4 separate regions of the Homo sapiens genome follow, and all the other regions are linked to region 1. The links are contacts of gene promoters, found by promoter capture Hi-C in blood cells and fetal thymus (Javierre and others, 2016). All regions are on one chromosome and are shown on one strand. Each heading gives the region's core, a stretch centred on a gene start or on the middle of the fragment in contact. The rest is flanking DNA. Distances are from core to core; before and after follow the strand shown.

Region 1 (7,356 bases), core at 1,657-4,156:
AAATATCTGTCGTTGTCCCTCAGTCACATCAGTATGCACTATGACATTTATTCTTCACCTATTAACTCATTTTCCATGAGGAAAAATAAAAACTTCCTAACTGCTAAGCAAAATAGAGAGGAAAAATGCACTGCCGAATAGCAGGTATCTCCTTATCAGCTGCAGGTCTTTCAACTCTTATTTAGTCTGACTTTCATCCTTTCCCATTAATACTAGCACACCTGGCCGAGAACGGTGGCTCACACCTGTAGTCCCAGCACTTTGGGAGGCTGAGGTGGGCGGATCACGAGGTCAGGAGTTCATGACCAGCCTGGCCAACACAGTGAAACCCCGTCTTTGCTAAAAATACAAAAATTAGCCGGGCATGGTGGCACGCACCGGTAGTCCCAGCTATTCGAGGGGCTGAGCCAGGAGAATCGCTTGAACCCGGGAGGCGGAGGTTGCAGTGAGCCGAGATCGCACCACTGCACTCCAGCCTGGGTGACAGAGCGAGGCTCTGTTTCAAAAAAACATACAAAAAAACTAGTACACCTAACTTACATACAGCCGTGTAGCCGGCCCCAGAATCGCTACCGCTCGGGAAAGACACATGCAAGCGTCCATTTTGGACCTCCTTCAATTGCATTACATAGTATCTTGCCAAGATTCTTTCATCTTAAAGGTTGACTAACACTCTCAATATCAGCAGTTGCATAATAATTCAAGTGCCTCTCAGTCTCTGGTGATCCAAAGGCTCAAATGTGTATCTTTCATACAAAATTTTGTATACAAAATTTGTACATACGAAAAATAATTTGTATACAAAATTGTATCTTTAGAGACTTCACTCAACACTGTCAGCATAAAATTCCTCATTTCTTAAAAGAAGGAAGAAAAAACCAGAACAACTTTCAGTAGCGCACACAATGCTGTCAAATTCCCAAGGTTGTGGTGAGGATCAAAATAACATGTACAGGAAAGCCTTGTTTTGTGAACTTCCAGTCAAATCCAATAGTACCTAACGGGTAAATTTTTGCTTTTATTTCCTGCCTGAAAATGGGCATAACTTCCATCTGCATGTTGATGTAAAACCCAGAGAGACAGTATCTTATCAATCACCTCTAAAAGGCAAATGGGGAGCAGGAAGTATTGAGAGAGAGGAAAAAAAAAAAACCGTACCATTACAAGTCAAGGTCAGTGAGGAAGGATTAAGGACTTCTACCCAAGCTTCCTGCTAAAGACTAACTATGCTTCAAGTTTAAGCCATCTACCTTTTGAACTAGATTCCATTTACATTATTCTACAGAGGAGGAAATGAAAAGTACTGATATGCTGGAATACCCGAAGAGGGTCACTATGACAAAGTGACTAGCTTCTCTTCCAGTTAGATCTCTTCTGAAAGCTTTGGAAGAAAAACAGTATTCACAGACAAATCATTTTTTTATTCTCTAATTTCATATTTAAAAGCACTACAGACAAAATTTTAGTTACCTATCCAGACAAGCGGTCCTGGAATATGTTTTTATATTAAGTTATAGCCGGGTCTCAGTAAGAAAGCAAGAAAACAGCTTGTTGCTGACTTCTAAACCATGGTAGCATGGGGTGGTAGCATGGTACCATAGGGTGGGATAGGGACAACCTGGATAAATTAACTCCTCAGGTAATTATTATTTAAGACAAATGTTGGATTAATTCAAACTCCTCCCTCCCTTTACAACAGAAAAAAAAAATCATGTAAGATCCACTCTCCCTCCTCCTGGCCATTTTCTAACAAAAAATGCTAACAAGCAGATAGATGTCCAGTTAAAAAAAAAAAAAAAAAGCAAACTGATTTATCAACACTAGAAGTGGTTCTCTTTTTTTTCAGTAATTCTGATTGCAAACTATCAAACTACGAATTTAGCTTCCTAAAAGGCTTTTTACATTACACCCTCCAAAAAACCTCCTACCCTGACTTAAGTTTTTCTAAATCAAATGTCTTATACTGAGCTGTACTCGCAACGCTTGCTGGACAAGAAGTTAAAGAAATTGACAACTATTACATTAAAATTGCAAAATGCTGATACCGAACAACTTTCGATTCAAATCCACTGCGATTCCAAGCGTTCGTGGAAGACAACTTCCTTTTTCTACCCTGCGGGTCCCCCCGGCCCTTCCGTGAGCCCAGGTCCCCGCCCGGGCCTGCAGTGACATCCCAGGACCCATCTTCTGACGTCACAGACACACGGACCCACAGCCCTATGACTTCATCGTGGACTGAGGACGAACCGCAGTCGACTTGCGCCAGCCCAGAGGCTGGGGAGGCGTCCGAGCCTCCGTCCCGCCTCGTCGTTGAAGAAGGTTAAGGACAAGCGCCAGCTCACCTGCGCTGGGGCAGGGAAGGGCAGAGTGGCCGAGCCCGGGAGGGCGCGACAGGGGCGAGGCGACCCCAGTCCAGAGGCTGACTTCCTCACCGCCCTGGGTCCCGTAAGTGGGAGCGCCGGTCCGGTGCAAGCTCACGGCCTATCCGTGAATCTCCTCGGCTTCAGCGGGGACCCAGGACCCCGCTCCCTACCCGCCCGACCCTCCGTGGCCCGCGGGGACGCTCAGCGCCCGGGCCGTGCGCGCGGAAAGAGCCGCACCGGAGGAGGCGCAGGCGGCCGGGTCCCTACCCCGGACCCGCGGGCGGCGCCCCCGCCCCCACCCCCACCCGCCCCGCGCCCCGGGAGCGCAGGCAGGCGGCGGTAGGGGGCGGGGAGCGGCCACGGTGGCCGCCGCCGGACCCCAGTCGCGCGGCCCTCGCGCCACGCCCCACCTCGGCCCGGACCCACCTGCGCTCCTGCCCCGGCCGCGGCCTGGCCCGGGGCTGCACCAGCCCGACGCAGTGGTGGCGGCAGCAGCGGTGGCGGGAGGCCTGGCTCACTCCCCACCGCTGAGTCGGACCGAGCACCCAGCGCGGCGCGGCGGCGCCCAACGCTCGCCCCGAAACCCATTTGTTTGGCTAAAACGGAGTGACGTCACGCGCCGGCCCAATCGACGGTTGGCCGGGGGAGGGGCCACGGATCCAGAGTTTCACGGCGCCCCCTGCCGGACACTGGGGGCGGGAAGGGGGAAGTGAAAAGGGAGACCTGGATGACGCGTCTGCGGCCCCCAAGTGGTAGAGAATGAAAGTTTGAGCACGACTGTAGGGAAAGGAATCAAACCTCCCAGGCCAGCCAAGAAGGGTAGTGACGCCAGGGTTCAATCAGCAGACATGTCAAGTTTATGAATATTCGTGGGTGGACCTGAAGCTGTAAATGGTCTCAGATACTATTAGATAACCTAGTAGACCTGGATCCTCATACTGGTTCTGCTGCTAGCTTGGAAGGCTGGGGTTCAGAGTTTCAATTTGTAAAATGACAAAATTGGAAAGGTCCCTTCTGACTCTCTTTCCTATGAAAATCATGGCAGGGATACCGGTCAGAAAGTAGATAAACGTTGAGGCTGACACGAAACTGTTAAAGTCTGTAGAAGCTTAAGGGCTGGTTAATGATGGATATAAATTTTTAACACTTTATATTCAAATCAGAGGGCCAGTGAGGAACTTTTGATTCCCAATCTTTAAGCTTATTATTGTTTTCATTGTGAAAATAATATTAACCACATTGAAAAACATGAGGACAATGTATTTTCTTCTAGACCTTTTGCCCCATCACATATATTTTACTACACTGTAATAGTAGTTGTACGCGATTTTGCATCCTCTTTTCACTTTTATAAGCATTCCTCATATTTCCACATAAGCTTCATAACCAGTTTAACAGCTGCATAAAATTACATTAAGTGGACATAAAATTTACTGCAGTAATTCTCTATTTTTGGACATAACTTGTTTCCTTCATTCACTTTTTGCCATTATAAAGAAATCATAGAACATCTTCATGAATGTAGATTTTTAAAGATACCCAAAAGTGAAATTACTAGGTGAAAAAGACTATCAACACTTTCACAGTTACTAATACAAACTGCCAAATGATTTTTAAAAGGTTGTACCAAGTTACACTTAAACCAGCAACTTTGATTTTAGCCAGTCCTTAACAAAAATAATTTTGTCCAATTATAAAACTACTGTTGTAAAATATATGTGTAAAATCTTAAATATTAAAACGTAAAAACAAAATAAAAATATTTCCCATAATCTCATCACCAAGAAATAACCACTCAGTATCTCCATCTAGACCTTTATCTATATACATATTTTTAATAAAAATTGGAGAGGGGAAGTCCAGGCACGGTGGCTCACATCTCAAAAAGGAAAAAAAAAATTAAGGAAGGGTGTTATATGGTACACCGTGGCATCAAACTGTATGTCTGATTTAATATGTGAGCAATATTAGCTCAATATATCATGATCATTTGAAGCTTCTTTATGTCATAGTTAGCTCAAAATTGTAAAACTTCAGTTTATCCTTTCAGATTCATCTCAAACACTGTCCTTCTTAAAACCTCTTGATTCCTTCTGGGCATGGTGGCTCACGCCTGTAATCCAAGCACTTTGGGAGGCCAAGGCATGCAGATCATTTGAGGTCAGGAGATCAAGACCAGCCTTGCCAACATGGTGAAACCCTATCTCTACTAAAAATACAAAAATTAGCCCGGTGTGGCAGGGCACGCCTGTAGTCCCAGCAACTTGGGAGGCTGAAGCAGGAGAATCGCTTGAACCTGGGAGGTGGAGTTTGCAGTGAGCTGAGACCACACCACTGCACTCCTAACTGGGCGACAAGAGTGAGACTCCATCTAAAAAAAAAAAAAAAACAAACAAAACTTGATTCCTGTTGATTAGAGGACTCAAAAAATTGATATAAAAATGAAATTAATTTTAAAAGACATAATAAAAGCCCGAACTATTAATTATTATATTTTTTCATCTTTTTCTTGAGGCAGGGTCTCACTATGTTGCCCAGGGTGGTCTCAAACTCATGGCCTCAAGCAATCCTCCTTTCTCAGCCTCCCAAATAGCTGGAATTACAGGAGTGAGCCACCATGCCTAGCCTATGAATTATTGATTATTAAAGTCCACAGACATAAAATTATTCTGTCAAATTGCTAGTAAAGTTTCTAAAATCTGATTCTCAATTTCAGTTCTTGTCTCAGATTGGCCAGTGAACCACACTTTAAATAGCCCCAGTCTAGGAGAAAAGAACTAGGAGAGAGCATAACCATGTTAGGCAAGAACTTCCCTTGATTTTGTTTCTCCATTTGTATAATGGCAATGATCCCCTAGAAGCAAAGCCAGTAGAGCCAGTATAGTTTATCAACCCACAGGTCCTGTGGTAGGTCTTCAGGAAGGTGCTCCCCAGGTGGGCATGGGGTGGCACATTGAGGCCATGGGACTGGTGAGAGCCGAAAGAAGAACAAGACTGAGGTGGCACAGCAGCAGAAAAGTTCTAAATATATATAGTATATATATTTGGTTATTCCATTAGTAATTAAAACTTAGTTGTTTCAAGCCAGCAAACATATTAATTAAAACTCAGTTCAAGGGATTTGTCTTGTATAGACTTGGTTTCATTTCTGTTCTTTGCTCAGAAAAAAAAAAAAAAAAAACTAAGAACTTACTGCTTATTCCTTAATAAGCTTACTCCAACCTCCAAATAAAAACACCCACTGCTATGGTTTGAACGTGTCCCCCAAAGTTTATGTGTTAGAAACTTAATCCTCAATGCAACAGTGTTAAGAAGCGGGACCTTTAAGAAGCAATTAGGTCATGAGGGCTCCGTCCTCATGAATGGATTAATGCCATTATCAAGGGAGTGGATTACTTATCAAGAGAGGGAGTTACTATAAAAGCAAGCTTGGCCCTCTCTATCTCTCACTCTGTTAGGTGTTCTCTTGCTCTTCCACCTTATACCATGGGATGATGTAGCAAGAAGCCCCTCAAGAGTTATGAACCCCTTGACCTTGGGCTTCCCAGGCTCCAGAACTGTAAGAAATAGATCTCTGTTCTTTATACATGACCCAGTCTCAGGTGTTCTGTTATAGTAGCATAAAACAGACTAGGACACCCACCATTTCATCTTCTCTCTCTCACCCCCCAACCCTCCTTATCAAACTTACTTCCCCGCTGCTGGAGAAAGGAAACCAAGAGACAGGCTCCATTAGACTTTGCATCTAGACCTACTTTGCTGCAGAACCTAGGCCGCTGGGTGTGATAATGCCTTTCCCTACCTACTTGACTGTGTTATTATAAAGACCAAATAAGAAAAGAGAAGCAGAAGTGCTTTTAAAAGTTTCAACTTTGCAAAAGTAAAGCATGTACTTAAAAAATATGCCTGGAATGTGGCCGTTGGAGCATGCTTCAAGCCCTGAGCTTATGCCCAGGTTTATGCATGTGTGAAGCTCATTGGTGATGACGGGGGGATGGGCAGGAGCTACTCAGCCATGAGAATATAAATATTATCCACAATAAATAGAACAACTCAGGGAAAACTAGAGCACCAAGGCAGCACACTGTCTAACAGATATGATTCTATCTTATAATTAAGATGTGGATGGTGAGGGACATAAAGTTGAATAAGTATTGAAACCCAGGAAATCATAGTTCTTATCCTTCTTATCCTTCTTTTTAGATCTTGTGCCCCTGTGAAAATCTGATAAGAGCTAAAAATCAAGAGTCTCTTTGGAGACTCTTAGCAGAAGTAAAAAAGCACACCCTGATATATACAGACAGTTTAGAAGATAATTTTAATTTTTTTAAAAGTTCCTTAGATTAACTTATCTTATAGTGATCTGCACTCTCATGGTGGGGCGGTGTAAGAGACATGTAGAGCAAGGGCAGCCCTTCCAGTACAATGGATGGGAAACAAATCAAGGTCCCAGATCCTCCTATCCCCACAGTATTGCCCTCAGAACATTCAGAAGGTGGTTTCTACACTGTCAATACAGTGAGCCACACAATTTCCATAGGTATCTCTCTTTTTTTTTTTTTTTTTTTGAGACAGGGTTTTTGCTCTGTCACTTAGGCTAGGCAGCAGTGGCACCAACTCGGCTCACTGTAGCCTTGACCTCCCAGGTTCAAGTGATCCTCCCACCTCATCCTTACAAGTAGCTTGAACCACAGATGCTCGCCACTGTGGCTGGCTAATTTTTTATTGTTGTTGAGATGGGGTCTCCCTATGTTTCCCAGGCTGGTCTCAAACTCCCAGGCTTACATGATCCTCCCAACTCAGTCTCCCAAAATGCTGGGATTACAGGTATAAGTCACTGTGCCCATATTTCACTTCTGATAGCATATAAAAGGAGAAATTCTGGCCGGACGCAGTGGCTTATGCCTGTAATCCCAGCACTTTGGGAGGCTGAGGCAGGTGGATCACAAGGTCAGGAGATCGAGACCATCCCGGCTAACATGGTGAGACCCCG
Region 2 (7,356 bases), core at 3,432-5,931, 1.3 Mb before region 1:
CTGGTGACACCTTCACTCCACTGTAGGAAACAAAACCAACTGTGTAATCATTTGAGGGGTCAAATGCATATGAAAGTATTATAAATTAAGAAAGTGAAATCACATGTGTTAGGGAAACCAAGCAACAAAAGATTTTTTTAATGTATGTACTTGAGCCATAAGAAATCTACATCTCCAACTGCTCAAAATTAATTTTAACTAATCAACTACTTTACCTGAAAACGGTGAAAAAAAGTAATGATGCAGCTACTGCTCCAAATAAGCCACAGAGAAGATTGACGCGGTAGGCAATTGAACCAAAAGGAAACAGTGTAATTGCCAGTTTAGCCACCAGCGTGAACAAAGGATAGCCAGGAGGATGGGCAACCTACGGAAAAATTAGCAACAGTTAGAAGGTTTTCATCTAGGAAAGGAAGAGTCCCACAGGCCTTAATTGAAAAGTAGCCCTTTTCTCAAGCAGCTATAAAGATTAGGCACCAATGACTAAATGTTTGAATAGTGGTTTTCTATTGTAATCCTCTTGAGGCAATACAAATAAATATTTTCTTTAGTGGATTTGGCAGCGTCTATCACATGGTGCGTCACCCAGAGAAAGGGTGACATATTTCATTGTCAGTTCTTAAGCAGTTTGTTCTCTGGGTTCACAGTACATTAGGGTCATTTAAAAGGCTATTGAAAAAAAGCAGGTTCTGAAATATCGTATTGGTTAGAAAGTTGAAAGACCACACTGCTATCGGATTACCACCATGCTGACAGTCGTAAGGTCTTGCCTGAAGGGATCATGCACCATAATAAAGTTTATTAAATAATAAACTTATTAAAACTGTTAACCCGATTTATTTTATTCCCCACAGCTTATACAAAATTTGGGGTGATAATAAGGCAGCTACTGTATATATAGTAAAGGCTTTGCTTTATAATTTAGTTTAATTGGATTTAAAACTTAAAGTAAATTGTCACGTACTGTACTTATAAGTTACTAAAAACGGGGGTTTGAAAATAAATTAATCTACTTTACTCCATGCTTAATTAAACTTTCTTAATTCCTAAAACTGTTAATGAGAGCATTGATTAAACAATAAAACTAATACTTACTCCAAGCTCATGTGCGGCTGTGATCAGTTCCCCTGTGAAAAAATAATGTAAAACCAATAATTACTATTAGAGAATGACACTCCTCCAAAGTTTTCAAAATCCAAATGCTTGCATTGGGGTTTTGCATTAATTTGACTGGATAAAACTGTAAATCTGTAGAGATTTAACAGCATGAAATAGTCTAAGAATATTTTCTCCTTTAGGTCTTATTGAACAAACTATCTTTGATAGTCTTTAAGAAGTGGTCAGTGGAAATATAGGTACATTCTGGTCTTTAAAAAATGCTTATTTTCCCTCTTGAAAGTTGTATCCACTTGCAAATATACAAATACTGTTGGAGCATTAGTGTAATATGCTTTATTATCCCTCAAGAAATTAGCACGAAAGTCTATAAAGATACAACCTTATAGTAAGGTAAAATGCGCAGACATCTGAGGTTTGGACACTCCATAAAATGTCCCATACTACCCTAAAACTGGCATTTGGGTATCTTCTCCACATTAATTGCACTGGATATCTTTAAATGATTTCCAAGTGTTTATTAACTCCACGTTATTTCGGTAAGGTTCACTGTAAGACATTTTTTCAAACCATTAAATAATATTCTTTACATAGTCCTTTATAGTTCCTCACCATTAGTGACTATTTCTAAAATTATGATGCAGTAATTTGATGCCTATTTGTTAACCTTTTACGTATTCAGAGCACAGGGACTATTTCTGACTCATCCCTGTACATTGTAGTACCGTACAATGTAAGGAATCAATATTGATGAATGACTCATGAAAGTTACTAGTACCTATTAGGAAATGTACTACTGTCCACTTCCTATCCTTTCATAGATAGCAATACTCTGCATTTAATTTCTGTCCCAGCTACAATTTAGACCTTTACTCTCTCTGGCCTGGACTATGGCAACAGACTTGACCAATCCTACTTCAATTCATCTTCATACTGAAATCACTTATAATCAACACCTGCCTTCCCCCATGCCCCTAAACACATACACACACACACACACACACACACACACACACACACAAAAGGCTGGATTGCATCCCTAGTCTAAAATTTCTCAATGGCTGCTCTCTGCTTACTGAACGAAGTTCAGATTCCTCAGCATGACGTTCAAGCTTTCTATGGTTTCAAGGTCCCTTTTCTAGGCTTATATCCATGAAACCTATGTTCCCTCCAGTCAAATCTTATTACCCACTGTTTCTCTGGAGTGGTCCTCTTTTGCACCTCTTCTCACTCATTTTCTCACCCTGGAATATTTTCCCTAGCATTCTCCCCCTAAATCCTTCAAGGCCAAGTTCAATTGCCACCTTCTTGGTAACCTTTCCTTAGACACCTGCTTCCCCAGCCTCCCCATCAGAATTAATCACTTCTTCCTCCTCCATAGAACCTGCTTGAGTCTATTTAGCACTTTAGATGGCCTTATATTCTGGTTGGTTTTCATTTCTCTCTCCCACTAAGTTTAAAAACATTATCCTATCCATTTCACGATCGTGCCAGGATACCACCACCTCTCCCCTCTGGCCACACACAAAGCATCAATTCAAGCCATACACACAGAGGTTAACAAAAATACACATCACATTGTCATCCTTGCTACTAAGACACCCCAGTCTTAGGTGACTGCATCATGGAAGCCTTATAAGGGCACCTGAAGACAGATTAAGTCAATTACTTAAGGACATTTGTTAAGAGATATTCAAGAGCACCTGAGAAACCAGCACATTTTATATCCTAAATGCTTCTTTTTAAATAGTTTATGGTCTCACAATGTCTCAAACAACTGTTCCCTTTGTTAACTACTGTAAAGGATATGATTTTATAGTTTACTCCATAATGGATTAGCTCTTAAGTCTTTAGCTCCAAACTATTTTCGATTTTTTTGTTCCTGTAATCTTTTTGTAACGAAGCCACCATAAATTCAAAATTTCAAAGGTCACTATTCATTCTCCTCCATTTAAAATGTATTCAGAATTACATTTAACATTAAGAAAAATAGGCTGTTTTTCTCTAACTTCTTTTTACCATGGAAAAGTCAGTGTGCTGTTATTATTTGCCAGACTTCTGCTGCTATAAAGATAAATCTGGAATGTGACAAACTTTCATCAATTCTTATCAAATGTTAAACTAAAATCGAAATAGAAAAGATGTCCCCATTCAACGTCTCTAAATGTAACCTTGATAAAGATCTAAAGGGAAATACTACTCTTAAATTGATTGTGATAAAGAGGAAGGGAATAGTAAAAAAACCTCGAGCTTCCCGAGTCTTGGCTTTCTCCCAACCCTTTACATGAAAGGTTCCTCAGTTGTGTCTACCTGCATCAGAATTAACCTGCTTTTTAAAAATGAAGATTCCTTGCCCACACCTCCAAATTCCATAATCTACTAAGACCCACTTGCACTGGGGGCTCAAGTTTCCCAGGTAATTCTGAAGTACGTTCCTGTCTGAGAACCACGGCTTTGTTGTCTGCAATACAAACTAATGGCAAGCCCAGAGTTGTCAGCAGATGCTTAACCTTTACAAAAACCAGCTCCCTTTATATCATACTTCTCAATATTAATTAGACTAGACTGTCACACATCACATCTGTTAAAGACAGTATCTTTGAAATAAACTCACGTACAAACTAATTTAGTGAAGGCCAGATTCCTACCCCCTCCCCGAAAAGCACCACAAGCACCCTGCCCATAAATGAACTGTGTGTGTCAAGTGGTACAAAAAATAATTTTGGCAAGACGACACAATGTGATGAATCTATGGAGTAAAATGTAAGACTTATCAGGAAGAAGAATACATGCTTTATACTGGTTTTGAGATGTGTTCTGTTTATTGATGAAAATATAATTCATAAACATTCAAGAATAGTGCATTCAACATGTAAACACAATTATCAAATATACGATAAAGCAAATTTTCCATATTGGCATATACTTGGAAAACAGTTTATCATTCCCAAAAATGAACATAAAAATATTAGAAGCAACCACTATTTAACATCAAACCAAACAAAATTAAAGCACCTAAAGTTTGGTAACTCAAGGTGAATACACAACTTTATTCTTTTAGGAAAAAATAAAATACAGTATTAATAAAGGCAAGGCAATAATCATGATTTTAAATAAATTTTAAACATCACTACATATGTGATGGTGGATTTAGAAAAGAATTTCATGAAATGTTTTGACGAAAAGTAGAGGTTAAGGGGGCATATTCTGAAGTCAATATACTTTTCTTTTCCTGATTTCTCTACTTTGTGTGACTTTGGGCATAGCTTAGCCTTAGTTTTCCCATTTATAAAAGGAAAATAATAATTGCACCTACTTTTAAGGGTAGCTGGGAGGGTTAAAACAACAACCCATATAAAGCACTTGGAACAGTGCCTGGCACATAGTAAGTGCCCAACAAACGTCAGTTATTATAAATCTCACTCCCATCCTTCACACTCAACCAACCATAAGTAGCTGTCAATCTTTTTATTTTTTTACAAGTAACAGAACTACCTAACCTCTGAATAATGCTCTCCAGCACCAAAACTCACAACTATAAAGTTACTTCCATTATGAAATACCAATCTTGGTAACACTGTACAGAAACTCCCTACTACACGAATGAAACACTATCCCTACTTGTGCAACAGGACCTGAAAGAAGAAAGGTAACAATTTGAAGATGTAACATCAAAGATCTTCAACGTGGTAGGCAGCCCTAAATATGATCCCCACTAATCCCCAAGTCCTGATATTCTCACCTGTGTAATCCTTCCCCCTTGAATATGGGTTGGGTTTACTGACGAAGTTCCAGGAATAAAATGCAGAAGTGGTATATCACTTACAGTATTAGGTTACAAAATGACAGAGCTGTCAGACAGAGAGGTGTCCTTCATCTTTTTCTTGACAGAAGTCAGTTAACTTATGGAGACCCACATAGCAAAGAACTAGATTGCGTTTCTCCCCAAATTGAGCCTTGAGAAGACCGCAGCCCCATCGCACACCATGACAGCAACCTTTTTCTGAGTACGAGCATCTAGCTTAAACGGCACCCAGACTCCTGATTTACAAAAACGGGAGACGATAAACGTTTGCTGTTTAAGCTGCTCAATTTGGGGATCACTAGTCATGCAGCAAAAACTGCTTCTTCAGTCCATAGGTTCACCACCTGAAATTACAGCACTATTCTGACAAAATTACTGGCCATGATATGGCATTATTGAATCCAAAAACAAAACATGGATCTTGTTTCTTGCATCAAATACAAAACAATTAGTGTGATTTAAGGGCCAATGAGTCATGCTTTTCTTTTTCATAGAAACAGCCGCACCTGGCTTCCACCTTTTTAAGAGTTCTCCTGCAAATATTCTGCATGGCTAGTTCCTTCTCAATATTCAGGTTTCAACTAAAACACCACCTCTTCAGAGGTCTTTCCTGAATAGTCATTCGGAAGGACCCACTACTTACCCCCACTCTCAATCATATTTCCCTCCTACTGTCTCCATAACTTATCACCAGTGAATATGCTGTTTATTCATTAACTTGTGTATTGTCTAACCGCACTGGAACACTAGCAATTATCTGTTCGCCACTACTGTTCTTTTGTTTGAAACATAATAAGGACACCGTGAATAATATCTGTGGACTAAAAAAGACTGAAAGTAAATACTCAGGACCAGGATAAAAGATCTGGGGAAGTGGAGAGGTCGATAAGCCCCACCAGGCGAAACCAACAATACGCCCCATCTCGAAAACCTGAGAACTAAAGAAACCACAACGACAGGAATGGAAACAGAAGTGGGCTCTGGAACACACAATAGTGCGCTGTGCACAGGGGGGTGGATGGAGGCCCAGAGCTGACCAGACCGAATGCCAAGAGCAGGGGCCAGACGCAGACCCTGCCCGTTCTGGGACCAGGGGAGAGGGACAGAAGGGGCAACCCTGCGAGTACTTTACCGGAGTCTCCCCCCGGTACCGAAGGGGGCAGGGTGAAGGTGAACACTGCGGCCACGGCGGCGAACACCGCCACGCCGCCGCGGATGCCCCCGGAGCGCCGCAGCCCCACTCGGACTGCCCGCCCCTGGGCCTGGCCCCTGCCGTCGCCATGGGGACTCATGGGCCAGTGGCGACCGAGGGAGAAGGACACGGCCAGCCCAAGAACCCGGTGCGACACGGAGCTCCCCAGCCGAGAGACGAGCGCAGCTTGTGCGGCGGCCACGGCGGCTTCCGGGTCGAGCCTCCGCGGGTTGGACCGCACCTTTCTCCGCCTGAGCGCGGGGAGGAGAAAATGCCAGGCCTCCCTTGAGCCAGGCCCTGCGAGTTTTCCCGCAGTGCACCACGCATTGGCGTTCACCTACTTATAATGTGATTTAAGGTTCCTAATCACCAGGAGAGCATTCCCTTTAAAAAGCAAGCCCGGCCACAGGCCTACCTTCTCCATGGCTATTCCCCCCTTTTATACTGACTTGGTTGGGTCTGACAGAGACCAAAGCAGCGTCGAAAACCGCGAGCGAGGAAGGGCTGCTCCTGCCCCCTACGGTGCGGGGTGGAACTGCACAAAAGGGCCACGATCAGCCAGGAGCCCCTACCTGTGCTAAAAAAAAAAAAAGGGTGGTGTATTTACCGTATGTGCAAAGTAAGCCAATAAATACATTAATCACAATTATGTATTTATTACGATTTACTACGTTACTATGACTAATTACAATAAGTCTGTGTGCTACTTATTAAATCACTGAGTAATTTTTAGAGAGATTAGAATATGCTAGTGCGTCTTTTTTTTTTTTTTTCATTCCATAGCATAATGAAAACTCTGTAGATGAGTCGGGAAATTTGAGTTCCTGTATTCATGCAGATAACTCAAACCATGATAAAGGTGTCTCCTAGTTTAATGAAGAGGAGTGTTTTGCTGGAGCTTTCAACACAGCAAAGTGGAAAATGAAATTGAATCACCATATTTTACAATGAGCTGTAACGCAAAAAAAAAGAATCGGAGCCGTTAATAAGGACAACTACATAACAGCGCAGTTAAGCTTTTTAAGCTTATGTTTTATTATTAAAGCAATTATCCTGGAGTGGGCGGGGAGGAGAGCAACCCGCATAAAATGTATCTCAAAGACACACTGAAAACCAGTGACAATCTCAAACGTGTTACGCGCAATTTGATAGAGACACAGTGACTAAACTATAGAGTAACATATACCTACCTTGACGGTCATGGGGCCAGCACACCTTAGTCTTTTCCAGGTACTTATACAAT
Region 3 (7,356 bases), core at 1,537-4,036, 1.2 Mb before region 1:
ACATGATAGAACTTCCAGCTAAAAACAGAGAAGTAGTCCTCTCCCTATTCCTTCTTTAAAATTCCTCTATCAACAGCTTTTCTCAGTTTGGTGCATAGGTTTCATTCTTGACTGACCAGCTCTGTGGATGTCCTTCCTAATATCCATTCATTCCCAACTCTGGGGAGTTACAAAAAGAATGATGTCATTTTGCCCTGGCATATTCAGGATAATGCGGTGTCCATGGCAGCCATTATGTTGTATGAGGTCCCTGGAGCCACGACAGATAGTAAATGACTGTGGTGGAGATGGCACACGATCCTGGGGCCATGCACATGTCAGGCTGCAATTACCAGAAAGATTTCAGCTTTTGCTCCTGGCAGAGGACCTTGTTTATATTTGTCATTGGCACCATTGCTTCCATCACTGGGCCAAAAGCTTATTAGCCACTGGAAGTTGGCAGAGGTGCATGGACCAGAGCAGCTGACTGTGACATGAGGAACTGATATTCTTGCAGTCTTAACAGTGTCTCCACTGCAGCTTTCTACTGGCCAAATTTGTGAGGACCCACCTGTAACAAGGGGCAACTGGCTATCTTTAGTCATCAGCATCAAATCCATCTTCAGCCCGAAAGACAGAAATAATTTAATCCTAGACTTGGATAGATTCGGTGAGTTTTTTCTTTCATGCTCTATGTAAGAAAAACCCACAAAGAAAGCAGCCAAAAATGACTTTTACCCCTGAGTTGAGATCACCTAGATTTTATTCATCAGTGAAAGCTCCGAGAAACGACAAAGCCTTGTGAAAATACACACAGTTGTCCCTCAGTATCCACTGGGGATTAGTTCCAAGATCCCTGCAGATACCAAAATTCAGGGATGCTCTAAGTCCCTTATATAAAATGGCACAGTATTTGCACATAACTTTTACATCATCTCTAGATTACTTATAACACCTAATAAAATGTAAATGCTATGTAAATAGTTGTACTGTATTTTTATTTGTAGTATTTTTTATTGTTGTTTTGTTATTTTTAAAAAACATTTTCAACCCATAGTTGGTTTGAATTTGCAGATGCGGAACCGGCAAATGGAGAGATGACTGTATACTTTCCTCTGTGAATAATAGGGACTTACTTAATGTAAGATCATCATCTTTAGGAGATGGTGGGCTCAGTAAGGGCAGAAGCAAGGTTTTTTATTTTAGCATCTCCCCACAGGACCTAATTTGATGCTCCCTCTTTGTAACTGCATCTTGTGCTGTTTTCCTCACTCTCTCACTCATCTCTCTTGCCTCTCTCATCTCCACCTCTTGCATTTTTTCTTCTCTGGGAGGCTCCATGTCCTTTTACATGGAGATTAATTTAGTTTACCTGGGCTTCTGCAATTCTGCATCTCTACCTATTACCCTCTAAGCACAGCAAAGGCTGGCTAGCCAAGTAGTGCCAATAAGGTTTCTCCTTAGAAGATGAGGGAGGGAAAAGGTTATATTTGTACCTATATCCATATAATGCCCATAAATCATAATATCAACACATTCACTCTCCCACTTAAAAATCTTCTGTACTCTCTTTGCTTACCAAGTAAGCTCCCTTCCCTTCCCCTGATTTTCAAGGTCTTCTGTGACCAAGACCAATCTTCCCGAAAAAAGGGTTTCCCAATATTGGCACTATTGACATTTGGGGCTGGATAAGTTTTGTTGTGGCAAGCCATCCTGTGCATTGTAGGGTATTTAGCAGTATCCCTGGCTTCTACTCACCCGATGTCAATAACATACCCTCACCTAGTTATAACAACCAAAAATGTCTCCAGACATTGCCAAATGTCCCCTGGGTGGCAAAATCTCCCCTGATTGAGAACCACTGCTTTAAAGCCTTATCACCTGCTACTTCCCATACTAGGCCTGTACTCTATCTATATCGGACACACTCAGAGTGATCTTCCCTTCATACTTCTGCTTATTCTCTTTCTCTGGTTTGCGATGCCCTCCCTTTCACCACCCAACTCCATCCACCTAAAATCCTACTCAGTCTTTTATGGCCAGTCTTTACTCCATGAAATATTACCTAATTTCCTCTTAATCAAAGCTTTAGGCATTTGTCCTTTGAATTCTCAATAACGTTTTGTTGATACCTCTCATAACTTTAATTCTGCATCATTTCCATTTGACTCCATGAGTATAATAACTATTTTGTAGGTGTTCAACAAGTGAGTGTTTGCTAATGCACATACATATGTGTGTTTTTGTGGTTGAAAATTGGAACACGGGTGTAGGAGATAATGTTCTTTCACCTCCTTGAAGGAGGCCAGAGGGGGGTCATTCTCATGCCTTTTGCATCCTTCTTCCTGAGCTGCTGGTAATCTATTGTACTAGATGTGAGGATTCAATAGACCCTGCCGTACTCAACAAAATTTAAGGAAATAAGCAAAAGCTGATCTTATTTCCTTCTGTGATATGGTTTGGATTTGTATCCCCACCCAAATCTCATTTTGAATTGTAATCCCCAATGTTAGAAGAGAGGCAGGTGGGAGGTGGTTGAATCATGGGGGCGGATTTCCCCCTCGCTTTTCTTGTAATAGTGAGTGAATTCTCATGAGATCTGGTTGTTTTAAAGTGTGTAGCACCTCCCCCCAACATCTCCCTTCCTCCTGGCCACATAAGAAGAGCCTACTTCCCCTCCCCCTTCTGCCATGATTGTGAGTCTTCTGAGGCCTCCCTAGCCATGCTTCCTGTATAGCTTGTGGAACTATGAGCCAATTAAACTTATTTTCTTTATAAATTACCCAGTCTCAGGTATTTCTCCATAGCAGTGCAAGAACGGACTAATACATCCCCCAAAGCCCATGGTAGGTGCCCTAAACCATTCTCATTGTTCCTAAGTGCTGAGAAAAGTTGAGGCCACTCTCCTACTCCAGCAAAGCCCTGGAAATGCAAAGGTCCCAGCCTCATCTGACCAATCAAGATCCCATGGCCATAGGCACTCACACTGAGAAGCCTTTCTGCCACAGTAAGTCATGTCAGCAACATTAAAAACAAATTTAAGGTTTTTCTAGGGAGGCTCAAACTTTTCCTTTATAAGTCACTTGTCATCTCTGGCGACAGGACAGCTAGAAACTCATAGATTCCAGGAGAGCTTTCCAGCTGTCATGGTAACTGACCCGATGTGGCGCTGAAACTGTCCTCATAGCTAACCAACCATTACAGTGGTCCTTCGCTGGATCGGGGGGTGACCTCAGGAAATTCATTTGGAGTATTTCTCCACTGCCATCTTGAGGTCACTGGGAATAGTGCATCCTCCTTCCTTTTGTCATTGAACAGACATGGGCCTGAGGGATTTGCATGCTCTCTCTGCCTCCCATGACAGGTGCTGCAGCAGGCTCAAGAAACAGCATTGCCCTTATCACTGGAGCTTAGTCACTCTCGCTGTTCTTACCACGAGGCAGACCTGTCAGCAGGAACATGGATGTCTTAGCACTCAATGACATATCCTAGACACACCATGCTGCTTACTTTAAAAGAAAAGCTTAGGAAAGAAATGGAATTATAAAAATAAAAAAAAAGAAAATCTCTTTCAGAATCCCTACTCCCATGAGATGTCCAGGGTTCGAACTTTAAAAAGCAAAAATAAGAATAGTGGCCAAGAAATACATTTTTGTGTATGTGTGTAAAAGATGGATAAAATAAGGCATTGTTTAATTTCCTTCTGACTTCCCAAACAATTTCATATCATGGACATGAATGCTTTCTCATTTTATATGAGTTTTTTTTTAACCTGAATAATACAGAGTCTATTTAAAACTATTTTACCACTTATAACCCTGGAAAAAACTTCTTTCTCCTGGGCAGTGCCTGGTGGTTGGTTTGAAAAGCTAGTGGCTCCTTTTCAGAGTGTTTTTCTTAAATAAATGTCTGTCACATTAATGATTAAAATCAATTAAGCTCAATCATACACCTGAATCTAGCTAGAAGAGAATAATTCAAATGTTCCTAGCATAAAGAATAAATATTTAAAGTGATGGATATCCCAATTACCCTGATTTGATCTTTACACATTATAAGAATGTATCAAATTATCACATGTACCCTCGAAATATGTACACCTCATATATATAAATTTTAAAAATCAATTAAGTTCCTTTTGGAAGAAAGGGACACTGATTTCCTCATTCTAATTAGGTGATGTATTGCCCTCTAGCGGCATGATATGATAAATAGTGATATAAATCCAATGCAGGATGAATTTGCCTCCATTCATTCAGTGGGTTATTGAACAGCTACTCTGTGCCATGTACAGCTCTGGGCTCTGCCCGGGTACAGCAGCAAAGAAGATAAGCCAGTGTCTTCACTTCAAGGAGCATATATTCTAATGGGGGGATACAGAAAATTAAAACTTAAATAAGAAAAATCTTAGTGATATATGCCCTGGAGAGAATTAAAATAGAGTTATGTGGAAGACAGTGGTTGAGTAGATACTTTAGATTGAGCCATCTAGGATGTCCTCCCTATGAAGATGATATTTACCCTTAGATATGAATGCCAAGGTAGCTAGCCAAGACGAAGATCAGGAGTAGGAACATTTTAGGCAGAAGAAACAGCTAGAGCAAGAAGTTTAAGACAGAAATGAGAGGTGTTCAAGGAACAGAAAGATGGTCAGAGCTGCTGAAGCTTGGTAGATGGGAGAATGGCATAAGATGAGTTTGGAAAGGACAGATGATGGCCAGATCATACACGGCCTTGGAAAACCAAAGAGAATAATCTTTGAAGATATCAAGCAGGGGAATTACACTATTTGATTCACATTCTTTAAAAACTCTGGTTACTATGTGGAGAACAAATCCTTTGTGGAGAACAGAGGAGGCTGCTATAGTAATCCTCCAGGAGAAATGATGGCGGCTCGGCCCAGCATGACATTGATGGGAATGAAGATGGTTGACACATTTAGATATGTTTTAAAGGTAGTATCAGTGGGATTTGTTCATGGCTTGGTATAGGTAGTGAGGGAAAGAGAGGACTTGAGAATGACACCTTGATTTTTAATTGACTAACAGAATGGAAGAAAATGATATATACCAAGATGAGAAATATTGCTTGAGGGTTGTGTTTGGGAAGCAAATCAGGTCATGGCCTTCATAATTAGGATACAAAATACAGAACAACTTTTTTTTTTTTTTTTGAGATGGAGTCTCGCTCTGTCACCAGGCTGGAGAGCAGTGGCTCAATCTCAGCTCACTGCAACCTCCCCTCCCTAGCTGAAGTGATTCCCCTGCCTCAGCCTCTCGAGTAGCTGGGACTACAGGCGCCCACCACCACGCCCAGCTAATTTGTGTGTGTGTGTGTGTGTGTGTGTGTGTGTGTGTGTGTTTTAGTAGAGACGGGCTTTCACCATGTTGGCCAGGATGGTCTCAATCTCTTGACTCATGATCTGCCTGCCTCGGCCTCCCAAAGTGCTGGGATTACGGGCATGAGCCACCGAGCCCGGCCAGAACAACTTTTTAAAGAATGTGTTAAACAAAGATGATGAGCCAATAAATATAAATATTCACATTTCAAGGGGTCCAAGAGAGCTATAGAGTTTATCAAAGGAAATCAGGAAGAAGAGTTCTCAGATTGCAGTATAAGGCACCCTGAACAACCAGGAAAGAGAATTTAGCACTATGGAGATAAGAGCCAGTGGCTTTGAAACCTTCTAGAGCTGTTTATCTCCCAGTTTCTTCTCTGTATTTTGGGAAATGACATTATATACCACATGAGAAGGTTGCAAGAGTCACAGGACATTAGAAGTGAAAAATCTTGGAGGAAAAATGAGCCCAACTCCCCTTAAACCCTTCTTTTCCAAATAAAGTGGTGGAGCTCAGACCCCAGGGAGTAGAAGGGATACCAGCATTCATGGCCCTCCTGCAATATACCAGACACAATATGAAGAACATCACATGCCTTACCCCATCATGTCTTTGAACAATCTTGCAAAGTGTGCATAAATTTCCATTTCTAGCCAAGAAAACACAGGCTCTGGGAAGCCCAAGGCCCTACAAATGGCTACTGGAAGAGATGGGATGAGAACTCTCATGTTCCAGTGCTCTACAATCCATGTAATGCCATGCTAAAGAAGATTTTTGAAAATGTGAGGAGGGAAATGAAACTAATTTGGGTAAATCTTTTTAGAGTTTAATATTCTATCCTTTCACCTATACATGTTGGGGCAAGCCAGATTGCAATTCTTCTATGAAGCAGCCAAGCAAACTCTCCCAGCTAAACTTGGGGATGATGACGATGATGATCATGATGATGATGATGATGTAGCTGCCATTCACTAAGTGTTTTCTATGTTCTAGTGTTCCAGATACATTCATTTGCTTAAAGACAACAAACCTGCAATCTACCATCTCTATTTTCTAGATGAAACTAAGACATAGGTTAAATTATTTGCCCAAGGTCATATCACTACTCTGCCCAGTGAAAAACCTTGATGTGGACTCAGGCATATCTTCTTTCTCTGCCCATGTAGCCCTTTTAACAGCTTCTCTTCTCTGGAGTCGTAGTGCCATGGCCCACACAGGCATGTCCTCATTTGCAGCCCTGGGGATACAAAGAGTGGGACCATAGCTGGGGTGACCTTTGGGCCACAATTAAGTATCACACATAGTATGAAATCCTATCTAACACTGTACTCTGAACAATAGGACAAGTGAGAAGAGGAAAGAAAAGCAAATGTGAGCCAGCCATGTGATCCCATGGCTACCCTAAGGGCCTATTAATATGATTCAGAGATGCCTGAGTAACTGACTCTTGTTGCAGTTCCCTAGTTTAGGAGTGAAATGAGACAGTGTTTGCCTTGAGAGACCAAGAACTGAGTGAACGCCTGAGTATGTCATACCATGCTGTGCTCTGTAATCATGTTGTTTATTGCATGACCCCAAGATTATCAGATGCATCAGTCCCAGATGAATATATAGCACTGGCATATAGCCAGACTAATTAATATGTAGAACTCTCTAATCTCATAAAATTGAAGGAGGACAGTCTTTCTGCGATGCTCAGTTACAAGGGTATTTTTAGCCCACTCTCCTTTGTGAGGATTGGAGAATTTGAAAACTTGTGTCTCTGCTTGCCCTAGCTAACTCTATTACTTATCCTGACTGCAATATTGTTTAGCTTAATCACTTGAAGTCTGAGTCATTGGTCTCTCCATCAACCCAAATTTGCTGTTGACATTTGTCCATACAGTCACCTTGCAGATTAGGGATGGCAGGGAGAAGGTGGAGATTTAACGACTTTATTCCAGACCTATCATAGATGAAGGGACCAAGACGGTGTTGCAGTGTTGGGTTGATCAGCTGAGTGCCTGTGGTGTGAGATAGCTAAGGGCTTCAGATATGT
Region 4 (7,356 bases), core at 1,399-3,898, 1.2 Mb before region 1:
ATATATATATATGTGTGTGTATATATATATATATATATATTTTTTTTTTTTTTTTTTTCTTTTTTGAGACAGAGTCTTACTTTGTTGCCCAGGCTGGAGTGCAGCAGTGTGATCTCGGCTCACTGCAACCTCCATCTCCACCTCCTGGGCTCAGGTAATCCTTCCACCTCATCCTCTCAAGTAGCTGGGATTACAGAGATGCGCCACCACGTCTGGCTAATTTTTGTATTTTTTTGTAGACAACTATTAGCGTGCTTTTGCCATGTTAGCCAAGCTGGTCCTGAACTCCTGGCCTCAAGTGATCTGCCCGCTTTGGCCTTCCAAAGTGCTGGGATTACAGGCATTAGCCACCATTCCCGGCCTGTATTTATATATTTTAAGGGATTAAGATAGCAATGAAAAGTAATTTTCATGGGCCTTCCAGGGAAGGGGAGGGTGAGAGGAAAGAAGAGAGGAGAGAGAGAGACAAAGTTTGGGGTAGGTGTCCACAAGCAAGTAGGAACTTAGAGTCTTCCTGAAGTCATCTACTTTGCAGGGGAAGGGTCTTAATAATGATAATGTTAATAATAATAACTAATGTCTATTTGGTGTCTGTACACTGCACGTCCTGATATTAAATTGTTGTTCACTTACTGTTCGCTTAGAATATTCACATAAAAAAATATTTATTAAGCTTTACCATGGTGCTGGGATACAGAAGAAAGAGTGGATAGAAGATAGCTATGCAAATAAAGAAAGAAACATATAATAGAAGTAGGCACCGAGTGTGGCCATGTATTTCCTCTTAAGTGGCAACACGTTCTTGCATTTTTACACAAAGCTAGAACTCATTGATACTCAGAGGCTGTAATGAGAATTTCTACGGAATGTAGCTTTTATCTCTGCAGTATTAACTTTGGTCAAAAGATGGCAGCAAAGTTCAGCTAGCTCTTCGGAAACCACTTCTCAAAAGTGAGGGGAGAAGGGAGTAACTATTCACATCTTTTACAGGTTAATGGGCAAGTTGGGGAAAGGTTGTCTTGCCGCCTACACATGAAATTGTTTTCGAATTGTATATCACAATATTTATTAAACATTAAAATATCACAAGTTCAATGTAAGCCAGGTTATAATATTCAAATTATATTTATTCATTCACTTGTTAATTTACAAATGTAAATATTCATTAATTTCCCAAATGTTTTAGTACCTGCTAGGCATTAGCACTACACTGAGAGCTGATGATACTTGTCGACCAGAATATACACAGTTCCAGCTCTCATTGAACATAGGGCCTAGAGTGGGAATGATATTAAAAAGATAAATAAAGAAATGAACTTGTAATTAATTATTCATAGAATGTAATTACCTGTGGTAATTATATTGTATTTTTTCAGTTTCCTAGTACTTGAGAGTAACAGAAAATACTCAAGCATTTATTTTTCAATTGCTTGACTAATTATTCAGTTGCCTAGGACAGTACCTGGCACAAAGTAGGTGCTTAGTAAAGAGCTGTTAAGTGAGTGAAGGAGTGTAATTACAAATCTGAGATACACATGTCCAGAACATGACTGGAGACAAGTTTCTAATGAAGGAACATGACCTGGGTCTGGGAAAGTGATGTAGGTCTGAAGGATGAGTAGGAGGTAACTAGATGGCTGTGTATGTGTGTGGATTGGAGGTGGGGAGTCTCTGGGCATACAGTAGACCATGAGTAAAGGCCCTGTGACGATGGTGGTTGTGGGGTAGGGAGGGGGTGGAGAGGAGGCATGGGAACATGTCTTGCTACAGGGAACTAAAAGACCAGTGCGGCCTCAGCACAGGGAGTCAGGGGGTTGAACAGTGATGCACAACATAGACTTTGGTGTAAAGAATGAGTAGGAGAGGGACGAGAGTGGATTTGGGTAGAACAGGTGGGAAGCTGTTGCAGTCCAGGTGAGAGATGGTGGTAGCTTAGACTAGGGGGTGGGCTAATGGAGTGGGAAGTTGTCAAAGTCACCCGATGGGAGCACATGATTATATACAGACTATAGAGTGTGAGGGAGAGAGGAGCTCCAAGGATTACTGACTTGTGCAATGGGGTGTGGTAGAAAGGAAATTCTGGAGGAAAACCAATTTGGGGGAGGAGGGAAGATCCTAAGTTCTATCTGAAACATTCTGAGAATTTGAGACATCCTAGTAGAAATATTAAGTCCATAATTACATTGAAGGGACAGAGCACAGAGAGGTCTGGAGTGGAAATTGATTTGGGAGCCATTGGCATGTAGATGACATTTGAAAAGAAAAGGCCTGGTTGAATCCACATATGAAGAGAGTATAGGGAAAGAAATGGGGACTAAGACTAGCCTTGGGGAACTCACACTAGGTGCCTGGTGGAGAAGGATGGCGGCAAACAAAACAGAAGTAGCCAGAGAAGAAAAGAGGAGAGCCAGGAAAGAGTGTGTGAGTGCAATGGACAGAACTCTGGACACAGGAAGACCTTTCTCATGTTCTGAGAAAGGTTGGCATCTCCATCCTCCACCACAGTCCTTCCATCCAGCCTGTTCATTCACCCATTTAACTGTGGCCCTTGCTAGCTCCAACACAAATGTCCTTGGCTCTTGGTAGAGCCAGTCCCAGGAAGATAATGTATTTTGAGCCACCAAAACTATAGATCATGGCAAATAGAGAGCAAAGAATAATGACATGGACATTGGTGGAAGAATTTATTTACAGTTCCAAAGAAAAAGACCACTGGACTAAGAGTTAGGAAGCCAGAGATCCAATCTGAGCTCCCCCACTGGCCTGCTGTGCCAGTTTAGGGATTTCTCTGGCTATGCTTTATTTCAGTGTTATCATCATTAAATTTCAGGGCAGGAGACTGTGGTGGGTGGGTGGGCAAAGAGAAGGAAGAAAGTAAGAGAAAATAATACACACTCTGCATAATAATAAGCTCCTTATAAAGATCTTATGAGATCAGGTGTCTAAAAGTGCCTTGGAAAACATATAACATCAAATACTTTCCTATATGATAAAAGAATTTTAAAAATACTCTCATAAAAATGGAACCATGCAATTGATAAATCTGGAGAGTTTCCAGGCATTTATTCCTAAAAAGCTGTGTGAATGCCTTTTATCTCTTTCTATCCTGCTGCTAGCACCATATCCTTTTCTAACTAAAAATGAAAAAAACGAAATAAAGAAAAAAACTTCTAAAATCTGTTATTGATGCAAGGAAAAGGATACATATAGATTTTTAACAATATAGATTCAGGACCACCCAAGCTAATGGATTCCAGGCCAGACAGCAAAAACAAAAGGATTACCACTAAACCCTCCAAACTGTTTTAAAAGCTGGGGAGGATAAGTGATGGGAACATGGCGGGCTAGAGGTACCAGGCACCAGACCCTCCACCAAGAAGGACCAAAACAGCAAGAAGATAACCATACCTCGAACAGAACTTCAAGAGAGAACCCCAGAATTGAGCAAGAGAGTGACAGAGCACTTCTGAGGCTTGTAAGGAGAGGGGAGCGAAGCATCCTGAAGCCAAGAGAAATTCCCAATGGCAGGCGAAAGATAAGTGAGAGATCCAAAGTGGTCCACATTCCCACAGTGAACTCTGCAATCCTGGCTATGGGAAAGCCCTTAGGCCCCTGTGGGCCCTGAGACTAGTATGGGAGCTGCTTGGAGGCCACATAACGGCATTGTTCTGCGGGGGGATTTTGTGCTGGGTCCCAATCCCCCTCCCCTACCCAAGCAGTTGCAGCACAATAATATTTTGAGAGCGCAGCCCTCACCAGACTCCATCCTGTCCTGGCTGCTCACAGCCCCTGCATCTCCATATTCCCAGCGCCACACTGGGATCTCTCATGTCCACCTGAGAGCTACAGTACTGCAACTGTGGTGAGTCCCAGTGGCACAGCTCTGTACCCAGCAGTCTGGTCAACACAGTGTCCTACCCCCCAGAGAACAGGTGCAGTGCACCACGGAGGCTGCCCCTGGGACCAAGGGAGCCAAAATGTGTGCCCCCCAGAGCCTGAGAGCCTCCTGCCCTAGGCTGCGGTACTGACACCAACCCTAGCCCCTCCAGGAGCAGAGCCACCACACTTCTGCACAAGCTGTCAGGATGCCTGGGGATTGGCCCGCCCCAGCTACTACCACCAGCTCCCATGCACATGCCATCTGGGGTCCTGGGGATAGGCTCACCTGCTGCCGCTACTGGAGCTTGCACACACTGTCCAGGGACAGGCCCATCCTACCCGCTGCTGCACCCCTGGACCATGCTCACCCAGCCTGCTGCTGCCGCTGCCAGCTCCCATCCGGGGACCTGGTGACTGGTCTGCTCAGCCTGCTGCCACCACTGCTGGCACCCATGTGAGTGACCCAGGGGCCTGAAGGTTGGCCCCCCACTGCTACTGCCACTGCTGACGCCATATGCACATCTCCCAGGCGCCTGAGAACACACCTTCCCAGCCCACCACTGCAATTGCCTGCACCTAAGCAAGCCGCCTGGAGGCACAAGGATGTGCCTGCCTGGACCTGCCACTGCCAGTGCCAGCATACACCTCCCAGGCCTCCAAGGACTGGCACACCAGGCCTGCCACTGCCACCACTGGTTCCTAAAGACTGGCCCACATGTCATCCCCATCCCCAGCAAAGCTTTGCCTCAGGCTCCACTGCAGCCTAAACCACTGAGAAAATCACAGAAGTCACTGAGGCGGATTATAGCCAAAGAAATCATACAGAGACTATAGTATTGCACCCACCCAGAATCAAAGCCAAAGCACCCTGGCTGACCAACCTTGTAGAAAGCTCTTTCCCTGTGAAAGCCTATCCGTAAAACTGGGAGCAGTGCTGTCACACCAGATGTGAAGATATCACCCTAAGGAAACAAGAAGCATGAAAAAGCAAGGAAACATGACACCTCCAAAGGAACACAATAATTCTCTAGCAGCAGATCTTACAGAGAAGGAAATCTATGAAATCCTTGAAAAAGAATTCCAAATATTGATATTAAAGAAACTCAATGAGCTATGATAAACACTAGATACGAGAGAAGGGGCTTCAGTGGCTGACTGGAGGCACCAAGCACTGGCTTCCTCCACAAAGAAGAAATAAAACGGCAAGTAAGTAATTACTCTCTCAATAGAGCATCTGAGAGAGAACCTTGGAATTCAACAGAGAAGTGACAGGACACACCTAAGGCAAGGAAGGAGAGGGAAGGGAGGCAGTCTGCTCTGCTAGGATCAGCTAGGAGCCCAAGAGTGAGGAACCTACTGTGAGGAAAGGGTAGAAGAGATCCTCAGTGGTCCACCTCACTACTGCCAACTCCTGCAATCCTAGACAAAGAAGAGCCCCACTCCATCCTCACGGATCCTGACACTAACACAGGGAGCTAGCTGCCTGCAGACGGGGCTATGGCATTGGTCCAGCAAGGTAGCTCACGCTGGCTCCCACACACCACCCAAGACCTAAGCAAAAAATACATGGTGCCATTTTGAGAGCCCAGCCCTCACCAGACTACATCCTGCCCTGGGGCCAAAGAGGCTTGCACCTCCCCATCCCTGGAGTTCCATTGACACCCTGTGCCTGCAGCAGCTGCTGTTGCTGGCTGCTGCAATGGGGGCTAAAGTGAAAGCCACTGATAGCAACCTCAGCACCCCTGGCAGGGGGGCTGTCACACATTTGCAAGTTCCCTGAGGACAGAGTCCCCCATGGGCAGCCATTGCTGCCAAGTGCCTAAGCAAGTCCCACTTGCAGTGACCCCATTCCACCTTGGTTAAATTTGCTTTTGTTGCTTGTGTTTTTGAGATCTTAGCTATAAAATCTCTGTCTAGACCAATGTCCTAAAGTGGGTCTGCTGTTTTCTACTGGAAGTTTTATCATTTGGGATCTTACATTTAAGTCTTTAATCCATCTTGAATTGATTTTTGTGTATGATGAAAGATAGGGGTCCAGTTTCGTTTTTCTGTATATGGCTATCCAATTTCCCCAGCACCATTTATTGATGAGACTGTCCTTTCCCCAGTCCATGGTCTTGGTGCTTTTGTCAAAAATCAGTTGACTATAAATTTGTGGGTTTATTTCTGGGGTCTCTATTCTGTTCCATTGAACTATGTGTCTGTTTTTATACCAATACCCTGCTGTTTGCATTACTATAGCTTTCTAATATATTTTAAAGTCAGGTTGTTGGATGCCTCCAGCTTTGTTCTACTTGCTCAAGATTGTTTTTGTTATTCAGACTCTTTATTGGTTCCATATGAATTTTAGGATTCTTTTCCCTATTTCTGTGAAAAATGACATTGGTATTTTGATTTGAATAGCATTGAATCTGTAGACTGCTTTGGGTAGTGTGGTCATTTTAAGATCACTTCTTCTGATCCATGAGCATGGAATGTCTTTCCATTTGTCTGTGTCCTCTTCAATTTCTTTCACCAGTGTTTTGTGGTTTTCCCAATGCTGAAGTCTTTCACCTTGTTAATTAAATTTACTTCTATGTATTTTCTTTATTGTAGTTATTGTAAATGGGATTGACTTCTTGATTGCTTTTTCAGCTAGTTTTTTATTGGTGTATAGACATGCTACTGATTTTAGTAGGTTGCTTTTGTATCCCGCAAATTTACAGAATTTATTTATCAGATCTAAGAGTTTCTGGTAGCGTCATTAGGTTTTCTAGATGTAAGAGTATATCAACAGCAAAGAAGAACACTTTGACCTCCCCTTTTCCAATTCGAATGCCTTTTATTTCTTTCTCTTGCTTGATTGCTCTGGCTAGGACGTTCAGTACTATGTTGAACAGGAGGGATAAAACTGGGCATCCTTGTCTTGTTTCAGTTCTTAGATGAAAGGCTTTCAGCTTTTCCTCATGCGGTATGATTTAGCTGTCGGTTTGTCTCAAATGTCTTTTATTACATTGAGATATGTTCTTTCTACGCTTGGTTATGAGTTTTTATCATGGAAGGATGTTGAAATTTATCAAATGCTTTTCCTGTGTCTATTGAGAGGATCATATGGTTTTTATCCTGCATTCTGTTGATAGGATGTATCATGTTTATTGATTTGCATATGTTGAGCCATCCTTGTATCTCTGGAAAAAATCCCACTTGATTATAGTGTATTTATTTTTGATATGCTGTTGGATCGTTTACTAGTATTTTGTTGAGGGAATTTTTGCATCTATACTTATCAGGGATATTGACCCATAGTTTTTGTTGTTGTTGTTGTTGTTGTTGCATCCTTGACTGATTTGGTATCAGGGTAATGATGATCTTGTAGAATAAGTTAGGGAGAAAACCTTTTCATTTTTTTGAAATACTTCCAGGAGAATTGGTGTTAGGTCTTTTTTGTAAGTTTGGTAGAATTAGGCAGTAAAGCCATCCAATCCTGGGCTTTTCTTT

Evidence for each region. The method cuts DNA at HindIII sites, captures the fragments that hold promoters and counts their contacts. A CHiCAGO score of 5 or more calls a contact.
Region 2: a contact is called between a fragment that was not itself captured here and the fragment with the promoter of FBXO34 in region 1, in 7 of 17 cell types (fetal thymus, neutrophils, naive CD8 T cells and 4 more). The highest score is 10.3, in fetal thymus.
Region 3: a fragment that was not itself captured here is called in contact with the fragment with the promoter of FBXO34 in region 1 in 1 of 17 cell types (fetal thymus); the score reaches 6.2 in fetal thymus.
Region 4: a fragment that was not itself captured here is called in contact with the fragment with the promoter of FBXO34 in region 1 in 9 of 17 cell types (fetal thymus, neutrophils, non-activated CD4 T cells and 6 more); the score reaches 19.8 in fetal thymus.

Annotation. Positions count from the first base shown.
Region 1 is chr14:55,266,971-55,274,326 of GRCh38, reverse strand. FBXO34 (F-box protein 34) reads right to left here and starts at 2,906. Exons shown (of 2, transcript NM_017943.4): 1 at 2,790-2,906. FBXO34-AS1 (FBXO34 antisense RNA 1) reads left to right here and starts at 2,249. Exons shown (of 2, transcript NR_184222.1): 1 at 2,249-2,445. RefSeq lists a silencer at 2,355-2,854. The HindIII fragment of the contact is 2,090 bases long and covers 1,384-3,473 here.
Region 2 is chr14:56,578,772-56,586,127 of GRCh38, reverse strand. It overlaps TMEM260 (transmembrane protein 260), which reads right to left and starts at 6,330. Exons shown (of 16, transcript NM_017799.4): 1 at 6,054-6,330; 2 at 1,096-1,127; 3 at 216-367. The coding sequence starts at 6,213. RefSeq lists a silencer at 6,043-6,262. The HindIII fragment of the contact is 4,901 bases long and covers 2,231-7,131 here.
Region 3 is chr14:56,487,401-56,494,756 of GRCh38, reverse strand. No RefSeq gene overlaps it. Among named protein-coding and RNA genes, the nearest start is that of TMEM260, 89 kb to the left of the region's middle. The HindIII fragment of the contact is 1,437 bases long and covers 2,068-3,504 here.
Region 4 is chr14:56,468,170-56,475,525 of GRCh38, reverse strand. No RefSeq gene overlaps it. Among named protein-coding and RNA genes, the nearest start is that of TMEM260, 110 kb to the left of the region's middle. The HindIII fragment of the contact is 3,945 bases long and covers 676-4,620 here.